Linked DNA regions of Homo sapiens: regions 1, 2, 4, 5 and 6 are each linked to region 3. The links are contacts of gene promoters, found by promoter capture Hi-C in blood cells and fetal thymus (Javierre and others, 2016). All regions are on one chromosome and are shown on one strand. The core of a region is centred on a gene start or on the middle of the fragment in contact, and the rest is flanking DNA. Distances in the headings are between cores, read along the strand shown.

Region 1 (4,875 bases), core at 2,176-4,675, 920 kb before region 3:
ATTAGAGGCAAAAATGAAAATAAAGATGTAAGATTATTTTTCACCCTAGTTTATGGACCCTTTAATCCTACATGTGGACCCAGTTAAGAACTCTTGCTTTATAGCTGGGCATGGTGGCACATACCTGTGGCCCTAGCTACTTGGGAGGCTGAGGTGGGAGAATCGCTTGAACCTGGGAGGTGGAGGTTGCAGTGAGCCAAGATTGAGCCACTGCACTCCAGCCTGGGTGACAGAGTGAGATTCCATCTAAAAAAACAAACAAACAAACAAAACTCTTGCTTTAGAGAGACTGGATGGAGCCAGTGCAGGGACCCGAATGGCTGGGATGATTGGGGAACTAAACCAAGCTGCATTTGGTGTGACCAGGACTATGGCTGAAGAATTAAAAGAAAAGAATACAGCATTCAGCACAAAGAGGTTGCTTAATAAACATTGATTGAGTTGAATTGTGCTCATGTCTCTAGGTACATATGATAGTGTGAGGTTAAGAGTCAGACCTAGGGCCTGCAGGGGAAGTTACTGGGACCACTTGCTGGGTGACGGATGCCTGCCAGACTGGCTTGGCGGGTGTTGATGGATAGGTGCACTGGTGGGATCCTTTGGGGGCTGGTGTGTTTTTGTTGTTTGGTTAAGTTGTCTGAGTGTGATTCTCAAGTGTATGTGCTTTGTGTATTTGAATTCTATGTTTGCTATGTATATAGGAGGAAACTGGGTTTACATTGTGCAATAATTCATAGAATTGCAAATTCTGTCTCTTTTTTTGGTAAGCAGGCTAGAAGCCCTGGGGGAAGGAAAGTAGTAATCAAGGCTCAAAAAGGGGAAGCTGGAAGCTTTTCCTTAACCCATTTAAACAATTACCTAAACTGGGTTATACATTTACTTCTTCTAAATTCTGACTCATCTGAAGCACTAATTTTGTGTAGAAGCACAGTTTTTATGTGAAGAATACATAAATCAGGAAGTTACTGGAAAAAGCTTTAGAAGTCTGCTGTTTGTCCTTACAAATATAGAGGGGAATTGAAATAAATTATTTAAATAACGATCTATTGATCAATTACATTGGTTAGCAAATTTACACTTTGTCCCAATTTTTTTTTAGTAAATATAAGGACTGAACAATCCTGATAGAAAATGGTGCCATATGAGATTAATGTCATGGGTAAATGAGTTCTCGGATTTAGCAGTTAGCTTTGTCTGCTTGATCTATTTCCCCCACCCAAACTAGCTGCCCTACAAATAATGGCCATTAATATGGCAGGGTTTGGGGGAAGGGCTATTGTCTGTCTTACTGAGTTTGCATTCATGAAAAATAAAAAAGATTCCACTTAGTATGGATGGAAGCTATCTCAGCCTCCAAGCATATAGGGTTTTTGAATGTGAAAAGAGAAAGAAGCTGCTTGTTATGTTGGCTATTCCTGAGGTAGGTTTTGTATAAGGTAGCATTATTTGAAACTGCTGTTTTTTTGGTATAAAAAGTGCTCAAGTATGGACCATTTTATACAGTTCAACCTAATCGTTTTCATTCAAATAATACTGCAGTGGTAAATTTGACAATTCCAGTGATATTTTTAAAGAAAGTCAATACCATCGAGGAATTTTTGGTGTTTTGAAAGCATGATTCTAATGTTAGTATGTCAGTGCCAAGCTTTGTACTCATCAGCCAACAAGAATATGAGCTACTATTCAAAAGTAGCTAACCCTCTACCCATTAAAAGAGAGAGCAAGAGGGCAGTCCTCACAGGTGTTTTTCGGAGGGTGGATGATATGTACTTGAAAAAACCCAGAGAGAATATATTTATAGTAAGATGCTTAAGCTTATGGCCCCAGTGCATAGCCATTTGAGTTGATCTCTGCCAGTCATGCCTTCTACCTGAAAAATACCTTTGAAATCTCCACACTATTTCTTTCACTTTTCTCAGAAAGTAGTATGTCTTAGACTGTTTGGCGTGTTGTAGCAAAAGTACCATAAACTGGGGCGGGTGGGGGAGGGGGGCTTATAAACAACAGAAATTTAGTTTTGGAGGCTGGGAAGTCTAAGATCAAGGCACTGGCAGTTTGGTGTCAGTGAGGGCCTGTTCCTCATAGCACCTTCTAACTGTGTCCTCACGTGGCAGAAGGGGCTAGCGAGCTTCCTGGACTCTTTTACAAGGGCATTAATCCCATTCATGAGAGCACAGCCCTCATGACCTAATTGCTTCCTAAATGCCCCATCTCCTAATACCATCACCTTGGAAATTAGGTTTCTGCGTGTGAGTTTTAGGAAGACACAGACGTTGAGACTATAACACAGCACCCTCCCTGTCATCCCTCTACTAGGACATTACTTCATTCATCCTCCTTGCTGGCTTCACCCATTCTCCATCCCACCCCTTCCTACCGCTCCTCACCTAGCTACTCTTTCTAGCTGCCATCCTAATCTTCATTTTTCCTTCTCCATGAAACTCCTGGAAGTAGGTTCCACTTCCTGCAGTCACTTCTTACCCTGAAAACTGCTGCTTCCACTCTATTGAAATCCCTTTTACAAAGATCTTCATGGACATCCTCCTCATCGAGCTAACAGGAGTCTCCTCTGCCTTCAGAGTCCCCAACCTCTTGGCAGCCTTTGGCAGTGCTGACAAGCCCTTTCCTCTTAGAATGTTCTTCCCTTGATTTCCAGCCGCTGTGTCCTAGTTGCCCTCCATCTAACTCTTCCCTCTGTAAGTTTTGTTCCTTATCCCATCCCCTAAAGAGAGAAATTCCCTAGTAATCTCTCCTTAGTCCTCTTCCTTCTGTTCCCCAATACTTCCCAACACTTGTATGTAACTGACCTAATCTACATCTAACAGTTCAGAACTCTCCCTAGTTACAAACAGACATTTACAGGAGCCAACAAGAAACAATGGGGACAGCCATGGATTTGGCATTTGCAGATCTATTAATATGTTCAAGTCTGGCTCAAATCCTAGGAGTTTTTACATAACTAAATATGGGAATATCACAGGGTTTTTGAAAGGATTCGATTACAAATATTTTCAAAGGGTTAAAGTCTATTTAACCCTTTGAAAATATGTATAATTTATATGTAAATATAAATATCTATATTTAAATATTTCAAAATGTTTGCTGGATATCCTTCCTGTCTATTCCATGGTCTTCAAATTTAGTATTTCTAAAATTAAATGCATTATATTTTCACTCACCCTTATACACACAACAGTAACTCTTCCTAATATCTGTATTTCTAGTCAGAGTATCAATATTCTCCCAGGCAGCCTTATCAAACCTATGATCTTTGATTTCTTCCTACCTCTCATCTCGCCATTTAACCCTGCTACTCCCAAGCATCCAACGCACTGAAAACTACAGATTTTGTCTCCACAGTAGCTCAGTTATAGTACCTTTACTTTTATCCCTATTGCTTTTGTCACCTCTGTCCTGAGCTCCTACAATTACCTGATTGTCTATTTCTAACTTCCATCATTCTGCACACAAACTGTGAGGTTCATTTTCCTAAAACCTCCTAAACACTTTCAGTGGATTCCCCATTGCCAATGAATCAAGTCCAAACTTTTAAATGTGATAGTCAAGTCCTTTCTGCTCTGGACCCAAAAATTGCTGTCCAGTTTTACCTCTTTCTATTAATCTTTATGCAGCCCTCCCCCATCCAGTTGATTACTCTTTAATTTTGAGTAAGTCTTTTGATTCCTACTCAGAGTCTTGCCATGAAATCTCCTTCACCTAAAATGCTCTGTCTCCCCACTTACCTTGTCATAATCTTCCCAATTCTCCAAAATCCATTTCTAATGCCATCTCTTATGCCATCTCCATAAACCTATTTCCCTCCCCTCAAAATGTAGTCCCTCTTCAAAATTTTTGAAGCACTTTTATTATATGTTTTCCATAGAGAGGTGACTACTATCCACTTGATTGGATTATGAAATCCAGAAGTCAGAATCTAGCCTAAATTCATCTTCATATCTTAGTCCCTCAAGCATGAGAAATACTATAAGTGGTTGAATAAATATTTATTGAATTGGCAAATAAAGCAGTAGAAAAAGAAGTGCGTGTTTTCACAATAAAAATTTTCAAACGTGGTACCCATCTTGCTGAAAAGTGATGGGAAACGTTCGAGAAGTGTTGCCTAGCCACCAAAAATAACATTGTTTGTAGAAACATGCCTTGATATATGTGGGTTAGTGGTACCTCAAAAGCCACATTAAGAAAATATTTTTATTGTGAAATACAACATAAGAAAATTTTTATTATTTGTTTAAAATAATTTTAAAATAAATTTAAAATTTGTTAAACAAATTTTCAGTTTAACAAATAAGCACAAAGTAAAATCTGTATAATGTCTACCCAGGTCAAGAAATAGAATATCGCCAAGACCCTAGAAGCACCCACCCAGCCCGCAGTGTGCCCCATCAGATCACAAACACCATGCAATCACTTTCCTGACTTTCATGATAACCACTTCCTAGTTTGCTTTTTTTTTTTTCTTTTTGAGATGGAGTTGCCCGGGCTGGAGTACAGTGACGCAATCTCGGCTCACTGCAACCTCTGCCTCCTGAGTTCAAGCGATTTTCTTGCCTCAGCCTCTGGAATAGCTAGGATTACAGGCACCTTGCCACCATGCCTGGCTAATTTTGTATTTTTAGTAGAGACAGGGTTTCACCATGTTGGCCAGGCTGGTCTTAAACTCCTGCCCTCAAGTGATCTGCCCACCTTGGCCTCCCAAAGAGCTAGGATTACAGGCATGAGCCACCTCGCCTGGTCATTTCCTGCCTTTTTGCTAATGATTTCAGCCCTTTATGTGTGCATCACTAAATAATACAGTGTGGTTTCACCTGTTTTTAAACTTTATAAACAGTACGATCATTCTGTATATAGTCACAA
Region 2 (5,001 bases), core at 2,410-4,909, 570 kb before region 3:
TTTTTTTGTTTTCCATTTGCTTGGTAGATCTTCCTCCATCCTTTTATTTTGAGCCTATGTGTGTCTCTGCATGTGAGATGGGTTTCCTGAATACAGCACAGTGATGGGTCTTGACTCTTTATCCAATTTGCCAGTCTGTGTCTTTTAATTGGAGCATTTAGTCCATTTACATTTAAAGTTAATATTGTTATGTGTGAATTTGCTCCTGTCATTATGATGTTAGCTGGTTATTTTGCTTGTTAGTTGATGCAGTTTCTTCCTAGTCTTGATGGTCTTTACATTTTGGCATGATTTTGCAGCGGCTGGTACCGGTTGTGCCTTTCCATGTTTAGTGCTTCCTTCAGGAGCTCTTGTAGGGCAGGCCTGGTGGTGATAAAATCTCTCAGCATTTGCTTGTCTGTAAAGTATTTTATTTCTCCTTCACTTATGAAGCTTAGTTTGGCTGGATATGAAATTCTGGGTTGAAAATTCTTTTCTTTAAGAATGTTGAATATTGGCCCCCACTCTCATCTGGCTTGTAGAGTTTCTGCTGAGAGATCCGCTGTTAGTCTGATGGGCTTCCCTTTGTGGGTAACCCAACCTTTCTCTCTGGCTGCCCTTAACATTTTGTCCTTCATTTCAGCTTTGGTGAATCTGACAATTATGTGTCTTGGAGTTGCTCTTCTCGAGGAGTATCTTTGTGGTATTCTCTGTATTTCCTGAATCTGAATGTTGGCCTGCCTTGCTAGATTGGGGAAGTTCTCCTGGATAATATCCTGCAGAATGTTTTCCAACTTGGTTCCATTCTCCCCGTCACTTTCAGGTACACCAATCAGATGCAGATTTGGTCTTTTCACATAGTCCCATATTTCTTGGAGGCTTTGTTCGTTTCTTTTTATTCTTTTTTCTCTAAACTTCCCTTCTCACTTCATTTCATTCATTTCATCTTCCATCACTGATACGCTTTCTTCCAGTTGATTGCATTGGCTCCTGAGGCTTCTGCATTCTTCACGTAGTTCTCGAGCCTTGGCTTTCAGCTCCATCAGCTCCTTTAAGCACTTCTCTGTATTGGTTATTCCAGTTAGCCATTCGTCTAAATTTTTTTCAAAGTTTTCAACTTCTTTGCCTTTGGTTTGAATTTCCTCCTGTAGCTGGGAGTAGTTTGATCGTCTGAAGCCTTCTTCTCTCAACTCGTCAAAGTCATTCTCCATCCAGCTTTGTTCTGTTGCTGGTGAGGAACTGCGTTCCTTTGGAGGAGGAGAGGCGCTCTGCTTTTTAGAGTTTCCAGTTTTTCTGCTCTGTTTTTTCCCCATCTTTGTGGTTTTATCTACTTTTGGTCTTTGATGATGGTGATGTACAGATGGGTTTTTGGTGTGGATGTCCGTTCTGTTTGTTAGTTTTCCTTCTAACAGACAGAACCCTCAGCTGCAGGTCTGTTGGAGTTTGCTAGAGGTCCACTCCAGACCCTGTTTGCTTGGGTATCAGCAGCAGAGTCTGCAGAATCGGGGATTTTCGTGATCCGCGAATGCTGCTGTCTAATCGTTCCTCTGGAAGTTTTGTCTCAGAGGAGTACCTGGCCCTGTGAGGTGTCAGTCTGCCCCTACTGGGGGGTGCCTCCCAGTTAGGCTGCTTGGGGGTCAGGGGTCAGGGGTCAGGGACCCACTTGAGGAGGCAGTCTGCCTGTTCTCAGATCTCCAGCTGCGTGCTGGGAGAACCATTGCTCTCCTCAAAGCTGTCAGACAGGGACATTTAAGTCTGCAGAGGTTACTGCTGTCTTTTTGTTTGTCTGTGCCCTGCCCCCAGAGGTGGAGCCTACAGAGGCAGGCAGGCCTCCTTGAGCTGTGGTGGGCTCCACCCAGTTCAAGCTTCCTGGCTGCTGTGTTTACCTAAGCAAGCCTGGGCAATGGCGGGCGCCCCTCCTCCAGCCTTGCTGCCGCCTTGCAGTTTGATCTCAGACTGCTGTGCTAGCAATCAGTGAGACTCCGTGGGCGTAGGACCCTCCGAGCCAGGTGCGGAATATATTCTCCTGGTGCGCCATTTCCTAAGCTCGTTGGAAAAGCGCAGTATTCGGGTGGGAGTGGCCCGATTTTCCAGGTGCCGTTTGTCACCCCTTTCCTTGACCAGGAAAGGGACCTCCCTGATCCCTTGAGCTTCCCGAGTGAGGCAATGCCTCTCCTGCTTCGGCTGGCGCACGGTGTGCGGCACCCACTGTCCTGCACCCACTGTCTGGCACTCCCTAGTGAGATGAACCCGGTACGTCACATGGAAATGCAGAAATCACCCGTCTTCTGCGTCACTCACGCTGGGAGCTGTAGACCGGAGCTGTTCCTATTCGGCCATCTTGGCTCCTCCCGCTCTGGCTGAATTCTTTAGTACATCCCTTTAATTCACTACTTTTTCTCTTTGACTTTGATTAGCTCCATATATCTTTTGATTTCAATGACCATATTTTTATTTTTCAAATTTTTGTTAGTTCTTTCTCATATTTACCTGTTTTTTAATTCAGCCTGTATCTGTTCCTTAATTTCTTGTCCTTTCAAAATGGGTGCTATGCATCCATTTATTGCATATCAAATTCAAAAATATTTAATTTAAAAATATTTGCCAGATAGTTCCATAGAATTATTTTTATCTGGAGTAAATACATGCTCTGAGTGTCCGTTTTGTTGGCTAGCTTTCATAGTATTAGATATTTTTATGTGATTGAAACTTGGTGGTCAGGCTCATTTTGAGGGAACGTTTTTATTTGCTTTTTCCTGTTTTGTTTTAGTTTATTTTCTTTTTCTCACTCCTTCTGGGCTCACCTCCATGCTTAGTGATTTTACCTCCATGCTTAGTGATTTTGCCTCCATGTGTCTCCCCAGACCTCTATTCTAGAATTAGATCTAAAGCTGGCATCTTGATGCTCCTATTCCTAGTGATGCCACAGGCCAAATCACATGGCCAGCTGCTTGGCTTGGTTCCTGACTCCAAGGCTGTGCCTTTGTTCTTCTACTTTACCAGGTAGTGGGTTGGCAGCGGTTTATATGCAGCCTCCTTTCAGGAGTTCCTGGCTTCAAGCACTAAGTCTGGCTCCTGCCCTCAACTGAACCATCTGTAATTCCTTTCACCTTGCAGGAGACAATAATCTTGGCTTTTGAGCCTGAGACCACAGTGAGCTTGTAGCTCCAGGCTTGCTGAATGCTTTCTGTTTGGTTCCACTTTAGATCCATGAAAATGATCATTTTGTTCTTGAGCCTGGTTATGTCTTTTTGGTTTTCTCTATTTTTTAGCCATCATTTCTCTGTGTGTGGAGGAAAAGGAGTAGATGAAAGCATGGTGTTACTGCACCAAGTTGAGTAGACATATTTCTGTGTGTACTTCTCCATTTTCACCTCTCACCATCGCTACCTTACAATTTATGTTCTAGCCATAATGAACTACTTTCAGTTTCCAGAGGGTCAATAAATTGCATGCCTGTCTCCCAACCCCCAACTTTGGATGAAATAAGACAACAGACGAAAGTCATATAGAGACTTAAAAAAATTGATATCTATATTATATCTATCTACCCTTATGCTTCATTACAGATAAGCTAATAAAACTAGGTTATAGATCTGTAACCCAAAAGGGCTTGCCAACATTCTCTGCTGACTCTCGACCCCCACAGAATCTAGCCTTGGAACAGCCCACTAAAGGGGAAGTTTAGGTCTGCTGCCAAACATGTTTATCTAAGATCATTGTCTGCACTGATCTAGGGCAGAAAGGGAAAAAAAAGAATGAATTTATTAGATTAGTTCCATCCAGTCAAGAACTATGAGCTAATGAATGTAACAGTACTCACCAATCAAGTAACGCACTCCTGAGTGTGAAGAATAGTGGTATAAGAAAGCAGAACTAGCACTCCAGTAGAAATTCCCCTCTCCTCCCATGGAAACATGGTGCCAAGGGAGAGGAGGTTCCCTTAACACCTTAACACACAGGACATGCTCCTTCTCATTCCTCTAAGTCTTGTCTTTTTCTTTCCTTCCTTCCTTCCTCCCTCCCTCCTTTCTTCCTTCCCTCTCTGTCTCTTTTATTTTTATTTTTTGAGACAGAGTTTTGCTCTTGTTGCCCAGGCTGGAGTGCAATGGTGCAATCTTGGCTCACTGTAATCTCCGCCTCCCGGGTTCAAGAGATTCTACTGCCTCAGCCTCCTGAGTAGCTGGGATTACAGACGTGTGCCACCACGCCCGGCTAATTTTGTATTTTTAGTAGAGACGAGTTTTCTCCATGTTGGTCAGGCTGGTCTCGAACTCCCGACCTCAGGTGATCTGCCCACCTTGGCCTCTCAAAGTGCCGGAATTACAGGTGTGAGCCACCGCACCTGGCCCTTTTGTCTCTTTCTTTGGAGACAAGCTCTTGCCAGTTTGGAGTCCAGTGGTACCATCATAGCTCATGGCAGCCTTGAACTCCTGGGCTCAAGCTATGGGAGACGAGTTTCCCTTAACACATGCCATGCCCTTTCTCCTTCCTCTATTCCTTGTCCCCCCTCCCTTCTTCCCTTCCCTTCCCTCCTTCTCTTCCTTTCCCTCCTTTCCTTCCCTTCCCTCCTCCCCTACCCTTCCTTTCTCTTCCCTCTCTTTTATCTTTTGAGACAAGGACTTGCTCTATTACACCTTGAACTCCTGGGCTCAAGCTATCCTCCACCTCAGCTTCCTAAGCAGCTAGGACTACAGGCGCACACCACCGTGCCCAGCTAATTTTTAAATTTTTTTGTAGAGACACGGTCTCACCACATTTCCCAGGCTTCCAAAGCTGGGATTACGGGTGTGAGCCACCACACCTGGTCCCTGTAAGTATTTTCAAAGGCTCTTCCTTCCTCTCTTTATCTACCAACTCTTACTTTTTCTAATGCCTATAATAAAAACAATAGTTAATACTTATTGAATCCCAACTATGGGGGGAAGCACTATCACATACATTATTGAGTTTAATCCTCATAACAACCCTATGAGGTGTGTATTTTTATCCTGATTTTATGGATGAATAAATTAAGAACAA
Region 3 (4,578 bases), core at 349-2,848:
TCATTTTTTTCCATCTGTGGTTGTCCCATCCCATAATATTTAATAATATTAAGATAGTTTTTTAAGAAAAGGTAAAATCATGACTCATTCAAATATAAAACCAAACCCGTGTTCAAGATTTTATTTAACTCAAAATGGAACCAGGCAGAGAAGATAAAGAAAATCCCAGAATTAGACACCTTAGAGCAGGAATATTGAAATAAATGTGCAAAAGGAGGCAAAACTTCCACTGAATCTCTGAGAGAATTCGCATGTCTTGACAATAATTATTTAGCATTGATGTCACTTACCTAGTTTACGTAACTGAAAAATAGCTTTTTTAGAATTAGTTATTCCAAGGGGTGTTAAGATAGAATCTAAACTATGTAGTTTTCCATTGAAGCACACACTTCTCCCCATAATAATATAATGCACAGCACCTGTCAGGGATATTAACCATACATACCCACTCAAATGCTCCCTTTCCCACCAAGCTTATTAAAATAATAGTTTGTGGCCACAATTTCTTCCCTTCTCATTTATCCAATACACAGCAATCTTGTTTCAAAACTCCTATGCTGCTACAGCTGTCCACAGTCTCATCATACGCATTCTTTGCTATTGCAATTTTCTTGAATATGGAAGATTAGCTGAACATGCATTAAGCTCAGGAAACTCTAAAGAAAATCAGATAATGTAGACAAAAGTCTAATTTCTAGGCTGGCTGCAGATACCTTGTTCAAGAAGCGCCGGCAGGATCTTCTTTTGTACAGCTATGTTAGCTTTAATTTTGCACAGCTCTAGACATCAGAACTCATTTCTAAACACTTCTATGCAGCTCAAGAATAAAAGTAGCAGAAATGCAAGAGAGAAAAGCTAATTCCCACTTGGTGAAAGAGCACTTAAGTCTCAGTGAGCAAACAAGGAGGAGTCAGCCTTGGTCACTTCCCCCTCAAGCGGCCAGAGAGCGGAAACACAAAGCCAGGCCAGTGTCACTCCAGGGATTGCGGGAACCTAGACAACGCACCATCCTGGGCTCAGCGTCTACCCACCCCTCACCCGAGGTGCTCTCGGTTCCGTAGAATGTCCAGTCCACAGGAACGGCAACACGGACTTGTCTTTGGGACTACAACCAGCAAGAGCTCCCGCCTGCCCCATTTCACCTGCACCCTAGGGCGCCCGCCTCCTTGGCTACAGCACCACTGTTCCTAGTGCCCGCCGACTGCCCACCCTTTCACTTCTCGTAGAGACGGCGTCCCCGACAACGCCTCGGGAAAGAACCTAACCAACATGCGAGGAAGTGGCGCCAGGCTCGTTCTTCAAGAGAAGTGACAGAACTAACCCTCAGCCTGCAATCCTGACCAGGGCCGAGTCCCGAGCGCCTCGGACCGCGCCCCCGGCCCTCTCCGCCCCGCCTTCCCTCCCGGCCTCAGTCCCTCCTCTCACAGCACTCTGGTGGTCCCATCCGGGCGGCGGGCGGCACGGATCAGGCTCCTGGTAGAAGGCGGCCGAGCGACATCTCCGGCGACCCTCAGCAGGAGCGCGCCGAGTACGGCGAGTCAAAGTCCCAGGAGACTGGAGTGACCAGCTGCAAATGCTCTGGGCTGCGAAACACCGGCTTCCGCTCCTGGCCAGAGCTCACCAATCAGCGCCCGGCTTTCTCCGTCATTTCCTCCTAGAAGGCAAAGGGAACCTCTGGCGGAAGAGGCTTCCGGAACGGACCCGGAAGGGGCAGGTCTTGTGGGCGGGTCCAATCGGCTGGGAGCCTCGTGGAGGCTGAGGTGAGTCCTGGAGGTGCGTGGTTGGGGCGGAGAGCATTATCTGCGGCTCCGATTTTGCAGATTCTGGCTGAGGCGTTCGTGATGTCAGCAGCAGCCGAGACGGGCGTGTTAAAGGCCGGTTGCTAGGGCTGGGGGAACTCAGGTAACTACGGGCGTCCCCACAGCAGTACTTGGAAGCCCCTCAGCTACTCGGCGCGGTTGCGGGTGCTGAGCAGAGCTGCCTGACCGTGCGTGTGCACGGGCTGGCCTGAGGATGATATGACCGTGTGTTCGGTGTGTGGAACCCTCCGTCACCCTCCCCTGACCGAAGACTCGTTTAGGAATGTGTGGCAGGTCTGTTGCCACGGTCCAGGCCTTCAGTGCATCTTGGAAACATCGTTTTGGGGGCTGTAGGTTAGGAAGCGGAGATCATGGGGTCTCGGAAGAAGGTTTGGTCGTGAACTGTCAGAAAGGAGGCGAAAGCTGTGCACGTGGAACAAAGTGAACAGTGCAAGTTGTATGGGAGGTAGTTTAAATATCGAGGCGATGAAAAAAGGCTGCTAGAATTGGGCTTACTCGAAAGGAAGTGGGCCTCAGAAGATAATATTAGTTAAAAGAAGTAGAGGAGAACATGGATGTTATTCTAAGTAAAACGAATAATATGAAGAATACAAGGTCGCGGGACGAGGAAGGAAACTAGCCAGCCTGACAGGAAGGTTTATTCGAGAAATACGGGGGTTAGATAGGATGAGTTTTTGGAAACTGGCAAACGATTTAGCCTTTTCAAGGCTTTAGGATAGGGAAAGCTCATTTGAAAAGATTAGTCGGTAGTATTATGACGTTTAAATGAAAAGAGTGAAAAACATGGAGGCGGAGGTGCTAGGTGGAAAATCAGTGCAGTAATCCAGTGATAAAGAGCTGGAACTGAAAGTGCTGGAGAGAAAGGGATCCTGTTTCAGAGTAACAGTCAGGTGGAATTGACTAAAGAGAAAGAGGCAAAGAGAAGCAGTTTAGCATAGTGGTTAAAAGCAGAAATTTTGGAGTTAGACTGGCTGGATTGGGATCTGGCTTTGGCAATTAGCTGCTAAATGACTTTGAGTTAGCAATTTGCCATCTCTGGGTCTGAGTTCCTTGTCTGTAAAATAGAGATAGGAAGAGTGACTTCCCTTGTGGTGTTATTGTGGAGAATTTGTTTATTTATTTTTAGAGACAGAGTCTCACTGTCACCCAGGCTGGAGTGCAGTGGCGTGATCATAGCTCACTGCAACCTCGAACTTCTGGACTCAAGTGATCTTTCTGCCTCAGCCTCCCCGAGTGCGTCACCATGCCTGGTTAATTTTTTAAAAAATGTTTTGTAGAGATAGGTTCTTGCTGTGTTGCCTATGTTGGTCTGAAACTCTTGACTCCTAGGCCTTGGCCTCCCAAAGTGCTGGCATTACAGGCATGAGCCACCATACCAGGTCCTTATGGATAATTTTTTTATGCTCATATTTACAATGTGCTAGAGGCTTTTCTAAGTGCTTTGCATATGTTAGCTCGGTTTCATTAATTGCTGTATGTAATTAAACAATTGCATAATGTTATCAGTTACTATAGCGTAAGCACTCTCTAAATCTTGGCTGCTATAATAATATTTTTTTATTAATAATTCAAAGGTTATTAAATGGTTTTGAGCCTGAAGAGCTGGGAAAATTGTGTCTTAGTGTCAGAAGAAAAGAGAGGGGTACCAGAAGTAAGGTAGGCTTGGTTATAGACATGTTAAATGTGAAACTATAAGGTATTCAAGTGGAGATGTTCAGTAAATATTGGAAACTCTATAATTAGTATTCATGTAGGTGGAAAGGACTGGAAATAGACAGATGGGAGTCCCTGGACCTAGGCATGCTATATGAATTCTCCAAGGAAAACACTGTAGAAGGAGGTGGTAGATGGCCAAAGACAGACAAACATAAGGAACAACTACAGAGTCTGGAGGAATAAGAGGAATTGGGAAAGAATTAATCAAATGGCCTAGGCTAAGAGCATTATCACCATGTTAATATTATCTTTCCTTGATTTTAAATTGGCTTTATGTTGGTTCCTGTGAGAGAAGCAATGAGGCCAGTAAGTGATTATTACCAGAAAATATTATCAGAGAGTTGAGATTGAATTTTTTTTGTGTTAGACTAAAACAGCATTTGATAATTAGAAAGACCCTGTAGAGTTAAGCCAACCAACCAAAGAAACAAAAAACAATAGCAAAAAGAAACAGCTCCTCATAAAAGACTGTAACTTCTTTATTTTTGTGTGTTTTAAGTTGCATGGGTGTTTTTTGGGGATACTTTTTACTCTTCCATGTAAAGAACAGATGGGACTGATTTGTTATCTCCTTCATTCACCTCTTGTCCCTTTTATAAATAACCAGTGGATTATGGATTTTCAGTGAATTTAATAAAAGTGCAGAAATTATGGCATCTTTCCAAAAATAGTGTGCCAAGTTGCTCAACCATTTTCTATGCCAAGGGTAAGTGGCTGCTCTGATTTTGAAATGAAGGACAGACTTTCATGTACTAGTAGTTCTCAAAGTGTGGTCCAAGAACTGCAATAGCAGCATCACTTGGAAACTTGTTAGAAATGAAAAATTCTAGGCCCTACCTCAGACTTATGAAATCAGAAACAGGTGCTGGGAGAAGAGATGAGATGGTGTTTTCTAGCAATGTTTTCATAAGCCCTCCAGGTGATTTGGATGTATACTAGAGTTAGAGAACCACTGTACAAGAAGGTAAGTACCATGAGGTTAGGGATTTTGCCTTGTTAATAGTGTATTTCCAGTGTCTAGAATGGTGCCTGTCTAATTGGT
Region 4 (4,846 bases), core at 1,320-3,819, 850 kb before region 3:
CAAAGAGAAAAGGGAGATCAGCTTTTCGATCAAAAGAAAGAACAGAAGCCTGAAATGATGGAGAAAGACCTCTCATCTGGCCTGGTACCAAAGAAAAAACAATCTGTAGTTCAAGAGAAGAAGCAAGAAGAGGGAGCAGAGATTCAGTGTGAGGCAGAGACTGGAGGCACACACAAAAGAGACTTTTCTGAAATTAAATCTCAACAGTGCCAAGGTAATGAGCTTACAAGACCATCTGCATCTTCTCAGGAGAAATCAAGTGGTAAGAGTCAAGATGTCCAAAGAGAATCAGAACCTCTGAGAGAAAAGGTTACCCAGCTTTTGCCTCAAAATGTTCACAGTCACAACTCAATAAGCAAGCCCCAGAAAGGGGGACCCCTCAACAAGGAGTACACGAACTGGGAGGCTAAAGAAACAAAGGCAAAGGATGGCCCTAGCATACAGGCCACCCAGAAAAGCCTGCCTCAGGGGCATTTCCAAGAGCGGCCGGAGACCCACAGTGTGCCTGCTCCTGGAGGACCAGCGGCTCAGGCTGCACCAGCAGCACCAGGGCTTTCCCTGGGTGAGGGCCGTGAAGCTGCCACAAGCAGTGACGACGAGGAGGAAGATGATGTTGTTTTTGTTTCCTCTAAGCCTGGGAGCCCCCTACTCTTTGACTCGACTCTGGACTTAGAGACGAAGGAAAACCTCCAATTCCCTGATCGAAGTGTGCAAAGAAAGGTGTCTCCTGCCTCAGGTGTTTCCAAGAAGGTAGAACCCTCAGACCCAGTAGCCCGGCGTGTCTACCTTACAACACAACTGAAACAAAAGAAGGTAACTATTGACTCGTGTTTTGTTTCTGAGGTCAGAGCATTGCTTGTTATGGGCAGATATGAGATCTCATTGCTACAGAAGGGTTAAATATGTTCATGTGAAGGTTTTATAGGTGCATGTTCAGTTTCTGCCTTTTCCCCTATTTATATTTTCAAGATTGGTAAGCCAGCTGGGTTAAAATTTAAAAAAGGTTCTGGTTTTTGCACACATATTTAAAAGACCATAATTTCAGAGTTTGGGTGTTTCAGGCTATTTTAATCTGAAACTATTCATCTAACAGTGTGAGAGGAGAGATCCATTTGATGGAATCTGTTTTTCAGAGCACACTGGCATCAGTGAACATCCAGGCTCTTCCAGACAAGGGTCAGAAGTTGATCAAACAAATCCAGGAGCTGGAGGAAGTACTCAGTGGTCTTACCCTTTCCCCAGAGCAAGGTAAAGTGGCTTATGCCTCAGAACTCCGGGTTTGCATCGACTTTACAAGAGACATTCGGGAAGCCCTTTTAATAAAGAATGTGTTGATTCATTCACTTTTCCATTTTATTATCTGCTTCTGAGACTTCTTTCACATTACACCTATGGTTCATAAAAAACTTTCTCCTGTTTCCTGTGGACTCTACTTTCTTCCCCATTGTTTAAGCAACTGTTAAAATGCTACCTTCTCTAGGAATCCTTCATCGGAATGGTGATGATCCCTCTCTCTTGACCTCACCTCCACACATATGGTCCCTTCACTTAGTTTGCTGAACTTTAATCTGCTCTTCCCTTGTTTTCTGAGCAGGAACTAATGAGAAGAGTAACAGTCAAGTACCACAGCAGAGTCACTTCACCAAAACTACCACTGGCCCTCCCCACCTGGTGCCTCCCCAACCCCTTCCTCGTCGTGGTACCCAACCTGTGGGTTCTCTAGAACTAAAGTCTGCCTGCCAGGTGACTGCTGGAGGATCCAGTCAGTGCTATCGAGGTAAGACCCAAGGGCCTGACCCTGCTGTGAATAGCCACCCCTGTGAGTTACGTGCCACCCGGTACAGTAGTCACCTCTTATCCACACTTTCAGTTAACCTTAGTCACCTGTGGTTCAAAAAAAGGTGAGTACAGTACAGTAAGATATTTTGAGAGAGAAAGAGACAGAAACCACATTCACATAACTTTTATTACAGTATATTCTTATAATTCTTCTATTTTATTATTATTGTTAAATGCTTTCTGTCCCTAATGTATTAAAGTTTAAAATAGGTATGTACGTATGGGGAAAAAAAAAAGCCAAAACATAGTATGTGTAGGGTTCAGTACCATCCAGTTTCAAGCATCCACTGGGGGTCTTGCAACATACGCCCTGTGGATAAGGAGGGACTACCGTAGATGTCTTTGTGCCCACATGAGGGGAGAAGCCATTCTTAAGTCAGAAGTTGCCCATATAATAAAGATTGTGCAGCTCAGTAGAGCTTTGCATCGTGTTACTTAGCTTTCTGTGAGGGCACAGACTGTGTCTACCTTGTTCACCACTGTATGCTGATTAGTCAGCTCAGTGGCTGGCACATAGGAGTCATCCAGTCAGCATTTGTGGATGAAAACTCTAGCTCGCATCATTATGAGGTAGGCAGACCTGCAGATATGCTCTTATTCTTTCGTGTGTGTGTAAGTGTGTGTAAGACTGAGGAGAGACATGAGTCAAGACTGATGACTAATAGATCCACAGAGAGCAATAACACCCTATTAGCTAAGTGTTTCCTTCCTGAACTTTCTAGGCAACTTTGAATTCAGAGGTAACTGCAGAATGAAGATTCCAAGTGGAGCCTGAAATGTGTAATAGGATCAGTTGACAGGAGACTGATCAGGAGATAGGAGCTTGGAGATTGGGTTGGCTGGCAGTGACCAGAAAAGCAAAAGCCACTTGTTTCCCAACTGAGAACTGCTAGAGACATGGAAAGTTGAGGAGAGTAGTTAACAAGGAGGGTAAGAAACAGATACAGGGCCATTTGTAGCTAAGTTCACTCTAAAGGGATAAAGAAAACATACTTGTGACATCTTTTAGGTAACACCTATTTGTATGCAGGCCATACAAACCAAGATCACGTTCATGCAGTGTGGAAAATCACAAGTGAAGCCATCGGTCAACTGCATCGCTCACTTGAGTCATGTCCTGGTGAGACGGTTGTGGCAGAAGATCCCGCCGGGCTGAAGGTGAGCCAGGGAAGACTCCTGGTGTAGTCCTCTATGACAGTGCTCCAGCAGCCCCATGAAACTGCTGGCAGAGAGACTTTCTGAGATACCTTTCCTACAGACAGATGCTTAAATGGCTTCCCTTGCAGCATCCTCTCCTTTTATGCTTAACAGTGCAAACAATAACAACAAAACCCCTTTTTTAAAAAGTCATAAAGTTACTTATTTCTGTAGCAGTAAAGGATCCATTTGTTGAGTTGGTAGGTGCCACAAGAATGTGAAGGAATTGTTGCTTGTAATGAACTAGTTGGGGTGAAAATACATATACAATGTAAATAAAACAATTAGCAAAGGCTTTAAGGCAGAAATAAGGGGTGCCTTGTAATATACTATAAAGTACAAAAGGGATTCAGAATAAAGGAAACATCACTCTAGGTCAGTGATTATTTGTTGTCTGCCTACTTTGTGCCTTAAAGGTTGAAAGCCTTTAGATAGCAGAGAGGAAAGGAATAAAACGCTGCAATTAGAGGGAGTGGTGACTAGTGGGAAGATAAAGAGATTGGTATTCAGAAGTGGTGATCAGCTGTCATCAGTACCTGAGCCAGCAGTAGCAGGTGATGTTACTGAGTAGGAGCCTGGCATTGATGAAGGATTAGATCTGAATAACTCAAGAGATAGTATGGAATCGCTGTAGCATTTAAGCAGGGATGACTGATGAAGATTAGTTTTTCTTAACAGAGTACAAGATAAACTGGAGTACAGAAGACTAGAAGGGGGACTCTGGTCAAAGGGCTATTGAAATTTATGACCAGTAGTGCAGACTGGGACATTGGCTGCAGAAAGGAGAGGCAAATTTAAGAGATAATGAGGAAATAATGAAAAGCCAATGTAATGGCTGCTGAAAATAGGGTCAGAGGTCTTGGTTAAAAGCAGAGAGCTGGGCATAGTGGCTCACACCTATAATCCCAGCACTTTCGGAGGCCGAGGCAGGCAGATCACTTGAGGCCAGGAGCTCAAGACTAGCCTGGCCAACATGGTGAAACCCCATCTCTACTAAAAATAAGAAAATTAGCTGGGCATGGTGGCATACGCATGTAATTCCAGCTAGTCGGGAGGCTAAGGCAGGAGAATTGCTTGAACCTGGGAGGCGGAGGCTGCAGTGGGCTGAGATCACGCCACTGCACTCTAGCCTGGGCAACAGAGCGAGGCTGTCTCAAAAAAATAAAAATAAAAAAATAAAAGCTGTAGAGACTGATTTTGACTGATTAAGCAGACAAATCAGGACTCTCACTTGGGGTGTAGGGGGGACTCTTAATAGAAATGCTGAACATTAGATGCAACCCAAAACAAACAGGGGCAGACCAGGACAGTATGGTTACCCTTGAGAGAGGGTGCTGTTAAGGACTTCAAGGTGAAATGAACTGTCTACAGAATACTGAGGGAATCATTTGTAGAAAATAGGAGAGTGTAGAGTTCGTGTAGCCAGGCTCGGCATAGCCTCTCATTAGGAATTTATGCTTAGCATTTGGTTATTACCTTTGTCAGGTCCCTTTGCTACTACACCAGAAGCAGGCATTGGCTTGGTTACTATGGCGAGAAAGTCAGAAGCCACAAGGAGGAATTCTGGGTAAGTGTGGTATTATAAGAGTCAGCCTTTATTGAATGCTTAGGCATTGTGCTAAACACGTAGTGTTGTTTCATTTATTCCTCTCAAGAACTCTATGAGGCAGGTACTATTATTCCTCATTTTACAGATGATGAAAGTGAAGCATGGAAGTGTTAAGCAACTTGCTCAAGAATACACAGTTTAGGATCAAAGATGTTGGTTGCCAGCAGTAGAAGCTGACTCTGGCTGATTAAAGAGAGGAGG
Region 5 (4,443 bases), core at 1,076-3,575, 870 kb before region 3:
CAAGGAAAAAAAAAAGAAATACAACTCAGGATGGCCACCAGAAAACAAGTACATAGCCACTGGAGGTCTTCAGGTTCTAGGTTATCTTGAATGTGTAAAGCAGCGAAGGTTTTAGGGAACAAATGAGCAGTGAGGGTTGAGGAGAAGGTTAGAATTAAGCAGAATAACTGGTATAGGGTTAGGGGGAAGAGGGAAAAAACAGCTTGGTATAAAACTTGAATTAGATACCAAAAAAATGGGTAGGAGGACATGAATAAGAAAGAAAGGATTAATTAGAGGAAAGTTAGGATTGAATAGCTAAGATGAGAACTAGGCAAGTTTAAGAGGTGTTCTGATGAAGGTACAGAGACGTGGGGCCTATGACTGCTCTACTGCTGACAGTATAATAACATTATATGCCATATAAAACAATGGGAGAAAAAAAGAAAAAAACACCAATAATCCTACCATCTTAAATAAGCATTGTTATTATTATTTTGGTACATCCTCTTTGTTATTGTTTTCTATGTGACTGCTTTCAATATCTTTATTGGATTTTAAAAATCGTAACAGAGCAATACATGCTAGTTGTAGAAAATAAAAACTGCACCAATCTCCCAACCCAACCTCCCAGAGGTATATAAATGGAATCATACAGCATATAGTCTTGAAAGTTAATAGTTTTGATGCCAGGTGTGATGGTGTACACATGATCCCAGCCCTTTGGGAGGCCAACGCGGCAGACTGCTTGAGCTCAGGAGTTTGAGACCAGCCTGGGCAACATGGTGAAACCCTGTCTCTACAAAAAATACAAAAATTAGCCAGCTGTGGTGGTGTGCTCTGGTAGTCCCAGTTACTCGGGAGGCTGGAATGGGAAGATCACTGGAGCCTGGGAGAACAAGGCTGCAGTGAGCTGAGACTGCACCACTTCCAGCCTGAGGGGCTGAGTGAGACCCTGTCTCCAAAAAAAAAAAAAAAAACAAATTGACATGACTATACTCATAGTACATAGTACATTGTATAATGTTTGTTACTTAACATTATACAAATGATTACTATGTCTTTTTATGTCTTTGTATTAATAACAATTAATGTCATTTTAACTTAGGTTTAAGTTCCATACAAACGTTAAAGGAAAAAGACTTTCAAGACCATTTAAAAAGAGGAAGATGATGGCTAAAAAGCACACGAAAAAGAGTGCCACATCAATAGAAAAATCAAAATTCAAACAAAAGTCAGATACCACTTCATACCTACTAAAAAAGGCACGCAATAACAAGCATTGTTGAGGACATGAAGAACTGGGAACCCTCATACGTTGCTGGTGGAAATATAAAATGGTATAGCCACTTTGGAAAGTGGTTTGGCAATTTCTTAAAAAGTTAAACAAACTAACCATATGAACTAGCAATTCCACTCACAGGTTTATCTGCCCAAGAGAAATGAGAACAAATGTTCATATAAAGACTTTAACGTTAGGCCGGGTGCGGTGGCTCATGCCTGTAATCCCAGTACTTAGGGAGGCTGAGGCAGATAGATTACCTGAGGTCAGGAGTTTGAGACCAGCTTGGCCAACATGGTGAAACCCTGTCCCTACTAAAAATATAAAAATTAGCTTACGTGGTGGCTCGAGCCTATAATCCCAGCTACTCGGGAGGCTGAGGCAGGAGAATTGCTTGAACCTGGGAGCTGGAGGTTGCAGTGAGCCAAGATCATGCCACTGCACTCCAGCTTGGGTGACAGAGCAAGACTCCATCTCAAAAACAACAACAACAAAAAACAAAAAAACAAAAACAAAAACAATAAAACAGACTTTAACATTAATGTTCATAGCAATATTATTCCTAATAATTCCAAAGGGAAAATGATCCAAATGTCCACCAACTGGTGAATGAACACAATGGAATATTACTCAGCAATAAAAAGGAGTGAAATACTGATACATGTGCAACATGGGTAAACCTCACAAGCATTATGTAAGTGAAAGAAGACAGAGGCAAGAGACTACATATTACATGACTCCATTATATGAAATGTCCAGAAAAGGCAAACTTATAAAGACAGAAAGCATATCAGAGGTTGCCTTGGGACTAGCTGGGGGTGGCAGTTGGGATTGACTGCACACAGCTTTGAGGAAAGTTTTTGAGTGATAGAAATGTTTTAAAACTGGATTCTGGTGGTGATGGCACAACTTTATAAATTTACTTAAACAATGAATTGTGGGCCAGGTGTGATGGCTCATGCCTGTAATCCCAGCACTTTGGGAGGCCGAGGCGGGTGGATCACCTGAGTTCAGGAGTTCGAGACCAGCCTGGCCAACAGGGTGAAACCCCATCTCTACTAAAAATACAAAAATTGGCCAGGCGTGGTGGCGGGCACCTGTAATCCCAGCTACTCGGGAGGCTGAGGCAGGAGAGTCACTTGAACCCAGGAGGCAGAGGTTACAGTGAGCCAAGATCATGCCACTGTACTCCAGCCTGGCAACAGAGTGAGACTCTGTCTCAAAAAAAAAAAAAAAAGAATTGTGGCCGGGCGCGATGGCTCAAGCCTGTAATCCCAGCACTTTGGGGGGTCGAGGCGAGTGGATCACCTGAGTTCAGGAGTTCAAGACCAGCCTGGACAACATGGTGAAACCCCATCTCTACTAAAAATACAAAAATTAGCTGAGCGTGGTGGCACAAGCCTATAATCCCAGCTACTCAGGAGGCTGAGGCAGGAGAATCACTTGAACCCAGGAGGCGGAGGTTGCAGTGAGCCAAGATCCTACCATTGCACTCCACTCCAGCCTGGGTAACAGACAAGACTCCAACTGAAAAAAATACCTGTACATTTACCAAAAAAAAAAAAAAAAAAAAAGAAGAAGATAAAGAGCCTGCATTGAACCACTTTTGGAATAATATTTTAAGAACAGTGAAATTTGGAATCTAGTACTGAAAAAATATTGGTATAACAAAATAATTTGTAAAGTCTCTTGGCTTTACAAATTATAACCACATTTGTTCTCACTATAGTATCATCCTGATCGAGCCTATGTCAAAGGACAAGTTGAAAACAGTCATATGTTTGAAAGGCACAAAATGAAATGAAATGAAATTGAATTACCATTATATATCTTCAAACAAAAAGAATGAAACAGAGGAGGGTGGGCCTCAGTTTGGTTTTTATGTTACTAGGCTGCTACCTAGTGGTCATTTATAAAATGGCAGGACTTGGGTTTTTGGTTTTTGTCTTGGATTTGTTGAGCCATGTCTCTACACCACAGCAAATACCTAAACACTTACCGATGTGTGGGTTAAATATCTGAATGCATTGCTGAATAATTTATGCTTTATAAAAATACTATAGGCTGGGCGCAGTGGCTCAGGCCTGTAATCCCAGCACTTTGGGAGGCCGAGGCAGGTGGATCACCTGAGGTCTCAGGAGTTCGAGACCAGCCTGGCCAACATGGCGAAACCCCATCTCTACTAAAAATACACAAAATTGCTGGGCGTGGTGGTGGGTGCCTGTAATCCCAGCTACTTGGGAGGCTGAGGCAGGAGAATTGCTTAAACCTGGGAAGTGGAGGTTGCAGTGAGCCGAGATCACGCCACTGCACTCCAGCCTGGGCGACAGAGCGAGACTCCGTCTCAAAAAAAAAAAGAAGAAGAAGAAGAAGAAAAAATACTATAGTGGCAAGAACTGGATTGAAAGTTCTGAAAAATGGCCTTTAGTCCCTGATTGGCTGCTGTCAGCTTTGTGACTTTGAGCCAGGTCAAAATTAATCCATGGGGACTATCCGGTTCCAAAGTTTTAGGAGCAGCTCTGTAAGGTAAGTTGGCCTTGGGGCCACCTCCTTAACTGCTCTAAACTTTAGTATCTTCATCTTAAAAATGGGGATAAAAAATCCCATCCCTAGGCTAGTTGTGACAATTAAATGTGACAATGCATATAAAAGTACTATCTCAGAACACACCTCAGGAAAAGTTAGAATATGACTTTCCCTCTCAGAATGTGCCTAATAGGGAACAATCTTTTATCTGCCAATTAAAATTACTCCTTCCCATCCTATCCCAAAGCAACAAGCAAAAACACCAGAAGTTCAGAAAAGTAAATATGATTCTTAGAATGATCTGCTCATTTGAAACATAAATTTGAACAATTTAATTTAAAAAATAATCAATAAAGCATAGCCGCTAGAATTTTACAAATCACTTGAAACTTGGAATTGCTGATTATTTTAAAACAATAAGGTAGTGACCGAGATGTCAAAAGGTGAATGTTCTAGCTCATCCTCTCACCACTGGTATCTTATGGAGGTCTGACATGTTTAATGTATGCCAGCCAGCACAATGCTGACCACAGAAAGTATAATTCTTTCATTTTCCTAGGAATTAAGCTCCACTTTTGTGGGGTTGGACTTGTTCCTGGGTGTGTTGGCTCACACCTGTAATTTCAGCACTTTGGGAGGCTGAGGCAGGAAGACTG
Region 6 (4,486 bases), core at 945-3,444, 830 kb before region 3:
GATACAAGGACTCATTTGTTATACCTGACATATGTGCTATACACCTGCATTATTTATAAAATAATTCAATATAAAAATTTAGAACTCGAATTAAGACAGCGTGGGGGCAGGGAGGAGCCTGTTGTTCTGGCTGGCACAAGAAGGGTGGTCAGTGTGTCCCTTTTGTGCAGGACCACAGATTTCTGGATGAGCACTAGGACCCCAAATGAAAGAAGGCTGGAGTCATCACTTTACTCTAGCTACCATTTTTTTCTGACTTCATTTAGCACTAAATAAATTGTAGAAAGGACCTAGAAATAACTGGAAGCATTATAATCTTCAGATATGACCTAAATGTGTGCCTTCTCCCTTAGGTAGCAGAAGGCCTTTCCTTGTCAACATTTGATAGCTAACCTTAAGAATGATGAGGGCATTAAAGCCCTGCAGATGAGTCTGTTTAATCTATGTTAGGGTATTTTTTTATTTTATTCTTCTTTCCAGTGTCATTGTCTCTCAGTGGACCAACATGCTGAAAGTTGTAGCATTGCACCTGAAGAAGCATGGACTGACTTATGCCACCATCGATGGCTCTGTCAATCCCAAGCAGAGAATGGACTTGGTAGAGGCATTTAACCACTCCAGAGGCCCTCAGGTACAAGCTGGTCACATCAGAGCCGCATAATTAACTGTTCTGAGTTATACAAAGAGAATTCTTTTTGTTTGGTTGGTTTTTGTTTTTGTCTTTTTGAGACGGAGTTTTGCTCTTGTTGCCCAGGCTGGACTGCAATAGTGCTATCTTGGCTCACCGCAACCTCCGCCTCCCGGGTTCAAGCGATTCTCCTGCCTCAGCCTTTCAAGTAGCTGGGATTACAGGCTCCTGCCACCAAGCTTGGCTAATTTTTGTATTTTCAGTAGAGATGAGGTTTCACCATGTTGGCCAGGCTGGTCTTGAACTCCTGACCTCAGGTGATCCACCTGCCTTGGCCTCCCAAAGTGCTGGGGTTACAGGCGTAAGCCACCGTGCCCAGCCATATAAAGAGAATTCTGATATGGCAACTTAAAAATATTTACAGCCTTGATTCCTCCGAGTGTTTAGAATTTATTAGACATGTATTGGGATACTTTTAAAGAGCACAAATATTCTAAAAAGAATCAAATATGAGGACTAAAAGGAGATTAACAGCAGAGCTGGTTAGGTTGAGGGGAATCTTTGCAGAGGAGGCAAGCTTTGAAGGATAGGTGGGGTTTTGGTATGAGGAAATATGGAAGGAAATGAAAGAACACAGGCATCTAATTATAGATAATAAAGATTTGGAAAGCATTAGTAGAATGATAGGCAGGAGAATTATTGTAGCAATGGAGGGGTAGGGACTGATGAAATAAACATAATCTGGTTAATTGAAAGTTTATTGAGCTGACCATCCCCAGGGTTCTAAATTACAGTATTTATATATTTTGGCAAGCACTCAGTTAATTTTTTGAGGTTGACTCACACACACACAAAATGTGATGTGAGAATTTTCTCAAAAGTGAGACATGGGAGATAGCATTATAATGTTAAAAAAAAAAACAATTTATAACAGCAGAAGGAAATTTGATAGGAACACAGTGCTTATCTGTATTGATTGTGGACTTAAACCTGAGACCGAGATGTGTTACGAGACCAAGTCTGTTTAAAGTTAATGTTGTGTTTCCTTTTGAAGGTAATGCTAATCTCTCTCTTGGCCGGAGGTGTTGGTCTAAACCTGACTGGAGGAAATCACCTCTTTCTTTTGGACATGCACTGGTAATGATTCCGGATTTGTCCTGGGTTGTCACAGCACATCAAGGAGGCCAGTGGGCTACAGGGGCAGCAAGAACTGACTTCTTATGTTGATTGCTGTGTTCGTATTGCAGAGATGCCTTGCTTTGTATGTGTCTATAGATACAGATCTAAGCAGGGTATAGGGCTAGCTGACTCCCCTGAATTCCTGAGCTAGCAAGCCTTCAAATGACTACTCAAAATAGTTCATTCACGTTATTGTTAGTCTAACATCTGTTTCCATGGAAACGGGGAGCATAGCTTTTCCTCATGGCTAAGAGTTAACCTTGCTCAGTTTTACCTCTTCTCCAGAATACTGTATTCCAGACACACTTGTTGGGGTCCAAGGAAATTTCAACCTTTGAAAAGAGGGAGAAGCATTACTCCAAAAAGAAAAGGAATAGGGATTTTCTAATTATGTTAGAAATACACTTAATACCTCACCCTTGGATTCATTGTATGTAGTGTTAATACCAGGAGTACAACCACATCTTTCGTGGCTACAGAATGAATGAGTTAGTGTGTTGCTAACAGAAAATCTCATAATGAGTACCAGTTTCTGGTTTTCCAGTTATGCCAATCAAGGATTGCTGCTGGGGATTGTCATTGGTCCAATTCTCCAGACAGCCCAGATGGGTACAAATAGGTCAACCTGTTATCATCTTCCAGGAGAACGGGTTTAGTTCTTACTTGGGACTCCTCTGTACACGTGAGTGAGGAAAGCATACTAGGAATCATGCTTTTTTTTTTTTTTCAGAGATAGAGAAATGTTATCCAAGATTTTAAAGAGGTAAGATGAGAAACTAATTTGGAGTTACAATGGGAATCAATAAAGAAGGAAACAAATTAAGTCTCCTTAATCGAATCACAGAATATTCAAGTTGAAAAAGGCAGCTAGTCAAGATCATTAGCTGGCCCTTCAATTTCCAAGTAGCAATCTGAAGCCTAGAGGACTGAGGTTAAATAACTTGCCCAAGGACATCTAGCTACCTAGAGACCAGACCTGAGTTTTGGTTTCACCTCTGTTACTTAAGAGTTGTCAACTGATGATAGTGCTAAGAGCTATTATTAACAGTCTGACCCTAGTTTCTCACTAGAAACTAGGCAAGAAGGTATCTGGCACCAGCTTGTCTTAGGCCAGTATAGCTTAGGACAGGGATCGACAGATTTTTTTTCTTTGAGGCTTTTCAGGCCACATAGTTCTCTGTCACATGATGTGTGTGTTTTGTTTTGCTTTGCTTTCTTTTCTTAAATCCCTTTAAAACTGTAACAATAATTTTTAGCTACAAAAACAAGCTGTGGGCTGGATTTGGCCCATGGCCCATAGTTTGCCATTTCTGATCTAGTATGTCAGTTCCTTTGAGCTTTAGCTGTCTTCTAACAGGAATCCATCACTTGAAGATCAAGCTTGTGACCGAATTTACCGAGTAGGGCAGCAGAAAGATGTTGTCATACACAGGTAAGTAATGGTCCCCAGGACCCAGGACCCTTCTCAACTTGTACTTTGTGAAAGTCTTTCTTTCTTAGGTAGTGTTTTCATAGAATTTAAAGTATTTGGTGATGACTTTACTGATGATGCCCCTGAGGCATACCTTCAGGCAAACCACAGTCAGGAGAAAAACGAGCAATTTGGGGTAAGCTTGAAGTTGGTCACTGCAAAAGAAGAGCAAATTTGTGTATATGGTGAGGGCAGTCCATGAAAGGATGCTCCTATCTTTTATTTTTCTTTTTAACTTTTATTTTGACATAATTTCAGACATACAGAAAACGTACAAGAATAGTACCAAAAAGTTCCCATATATTATGGTGTGCATGTGGGTAGAAACATTTTTCTGGACCACTTGAGAACAAGTTGTAGACCTGATGCTCCTTTGTCCCTAAGTACTTAAGTGTACATTTCTTAAAATTAAGGGAATTCTCTTACGTAACCCCAATAAAATCATCAAAATCAGGTTATTAAAATTAATAAAACACTATTATCTGATCTACAGATCTTTTCAATCTCACTTGTCTCAGTGATGTCCTTCACAGCAAAAAAGAATCCCAGATCCTGGTAGCACGCAGTTTTCATAAGTTTGTCTCCTTTGATCTGGAACAGTACCCAGTCTTTGTGTTTTATGACATTGACATTTTGATGAGCATGAGCCAGTTATTTTGCAAAATGTCCTCTGTTTTGGACCCCCTTGTCTTTAAAAACAACAAAACCTGCCTTAATGCTGCCAATCCCCTCTCACAATGGCCCTCTTTTTTGCCTTCCTTTTCATGACCAGGTTTCCTGAAGAATTAGGAATCACTGCCTATCTTTACTTGATTACTTCCCATTCATTCCTCAGCCTTTACAAACTGGCTTTTACTCCTGTTGCTGCACTGAAATTGCTCTTGTTAAGGGGCACCAATGACTTCCAGACTTTGCTAAATATAGTGATTATGATAGTCTTCCTATGCTCTCTTCTCTGCTCATTCTGTACATTCCTTCCTTCACAAATTCTGTGCACTCCAGTAAGTCCAAAATTTGTATCTTTAGTTCCAAGGTCTCCTAAACTTCAGACCTATCGCAGTCCCTGCTAAATATCTGAATCCGAGTGTCCACATACTCATCTGTTATTCCTTCTTTTATTCATTGTTCTTTTGAGCATTCAGCCCATAAAACATACCTTTTGAGCACCCACTATGTAGCAAGTATAATTACATGTTTCAGGTACTCAA

Evidence for each region. The method cuts DNA at HindIII sites, captures the fragments that hold promoters and counts their contacts. A CHiCAGO score of 5 or more calls a contact.
Region 1: a fragment that was not itself captured here is called in contact with the fragment with the promoter of GDAP2 in region 3 in 1 of 17 cell types (neutrophils); the score reaches 5.4 in neutrophils.
Region 2: a contact is called between a fragment that was not itself captured here and the fragment with the promoter of GDAP2 in region 3, in 2 of 17 cell types (naive B cells and fetal thymus). The highest score is 5.5, in naive B cells.
Region 4: a contact is called between a fragment that was not itself captured here and the fragment with the promoter of GDAP2 in region 3, in 1 of 17 cell types (total B cells). The highest score is 5.6, in total B cells.
Region 5: a fragment that was not itself captured here is called in contact with the fragment with the promoter of GDAP2 in region 3 in 5 of 17 cell types (total B cells, neutrophils, naive B cells and 2 more); the score reaches 15.7 in total B cells.
Region 6: a fragment that was not itself captured here is called in contact with the fragment with the promoter of GDAP2 in region 3 in 1 of 17 cell types (erythroblasts); the score reaches 5.3 in erythroblasts.

The regions. Positions count from the first base shown.
Region 1 is chr1:117,002,893-117,007,767 of GRCh38, forward strand. All of the region lies in intron 1 of CD101 (CD101 molecule), which reads left to right. Among named protein-coding and RNA genes, the nearest start is that of CD101, 3.6 kb to the left of the region's middle. The HindIII fragment of the contact is 3,226 bases long and covers 1,813-4,875 here.
Region 2 is chr1:117,356,393-117,361,393 of GRCh38, forward strand. No RefSeq gene overlaps it. Among named protein-coding and RNA genes, the nearest start is that of MAN1A2, 8.6 kb to the right of the region's middle. RefSeq lists an enhancer at 1,405-2,046. The HindIII fragment of the contact is 3,634 bases long and covers 1,843-5,001 here.
Region 3 is chr1:117,928,023-117,932,600 of GRCh38, forward strand. GDAP2 (ganglioside induced differentiation associated protein 2) reads right to left here and starts at 1,599. Exons shown (of 14, transcript NM_017686.4): 1 at 1,426-1,599. It overlaps WDR3 (WD repeat domain 3), which reads left to right and starts at 1,717. Exons shown (of 27, transcript NM_006784.3): 1 at 1,717-1,760. RefSeq lists enhancers at 1,524-1,818, 1,700-1,869. The HindIII fragment of the contact is 4,170 bases long and covers 472-4,578 here.
Region 4 is chr1:117,075,047-117,079,892 of GRCh38, forward strand. TTF2 (transcription termination factor 2) reads left to right here. Exons shown (of 23, transcript NM_003594.4): 5 at 1-813; 6 at 1,134-1,248; 7 at 1,595-1,777; 8 at 2,870-2,997; 9 at 4,522-4,603. Among named protein-coding and RNA genes, the nearest start is that of TTF2, 17 kb to the left of the region's middle. RefSeq lists an enhancer at 1,833-3,032. The HindIII fragment of the contact is 6,383 bases long and covers 1-4,846 here.
Region 5 is chr1:117,052,370-117,056,812 of GRCh38, forward strand. All of the region lies in intron 1 of CD101-AS1 (CD101 antisense RNA 1), which reads right to left. Among named protein-coding and RNA genes, the nearest start is that of CD101-AS1, 4.9 kb to the right of the region's middle. The HindIII fragment of the contact is 6,290 bases long and covers 1-4,443 here.
Region 6 is chr1:117,095,669-117,100,154 of GRCh38, forward strand. TTF2 (transcription termination factor 2) reads left to right here. Exons shown (of 23, transcript NM_003594.4): 20 at 481-631; 21 at 1,683-1,765; 22 at 3,165-3,239. Among named protein-coding and RNA genes, the nearest start is that of MIR942, 3.3 kb to the left of the region's middle. The HindIII fragment of the contact is 1,982 bases long and covers 1,204-3,185 here.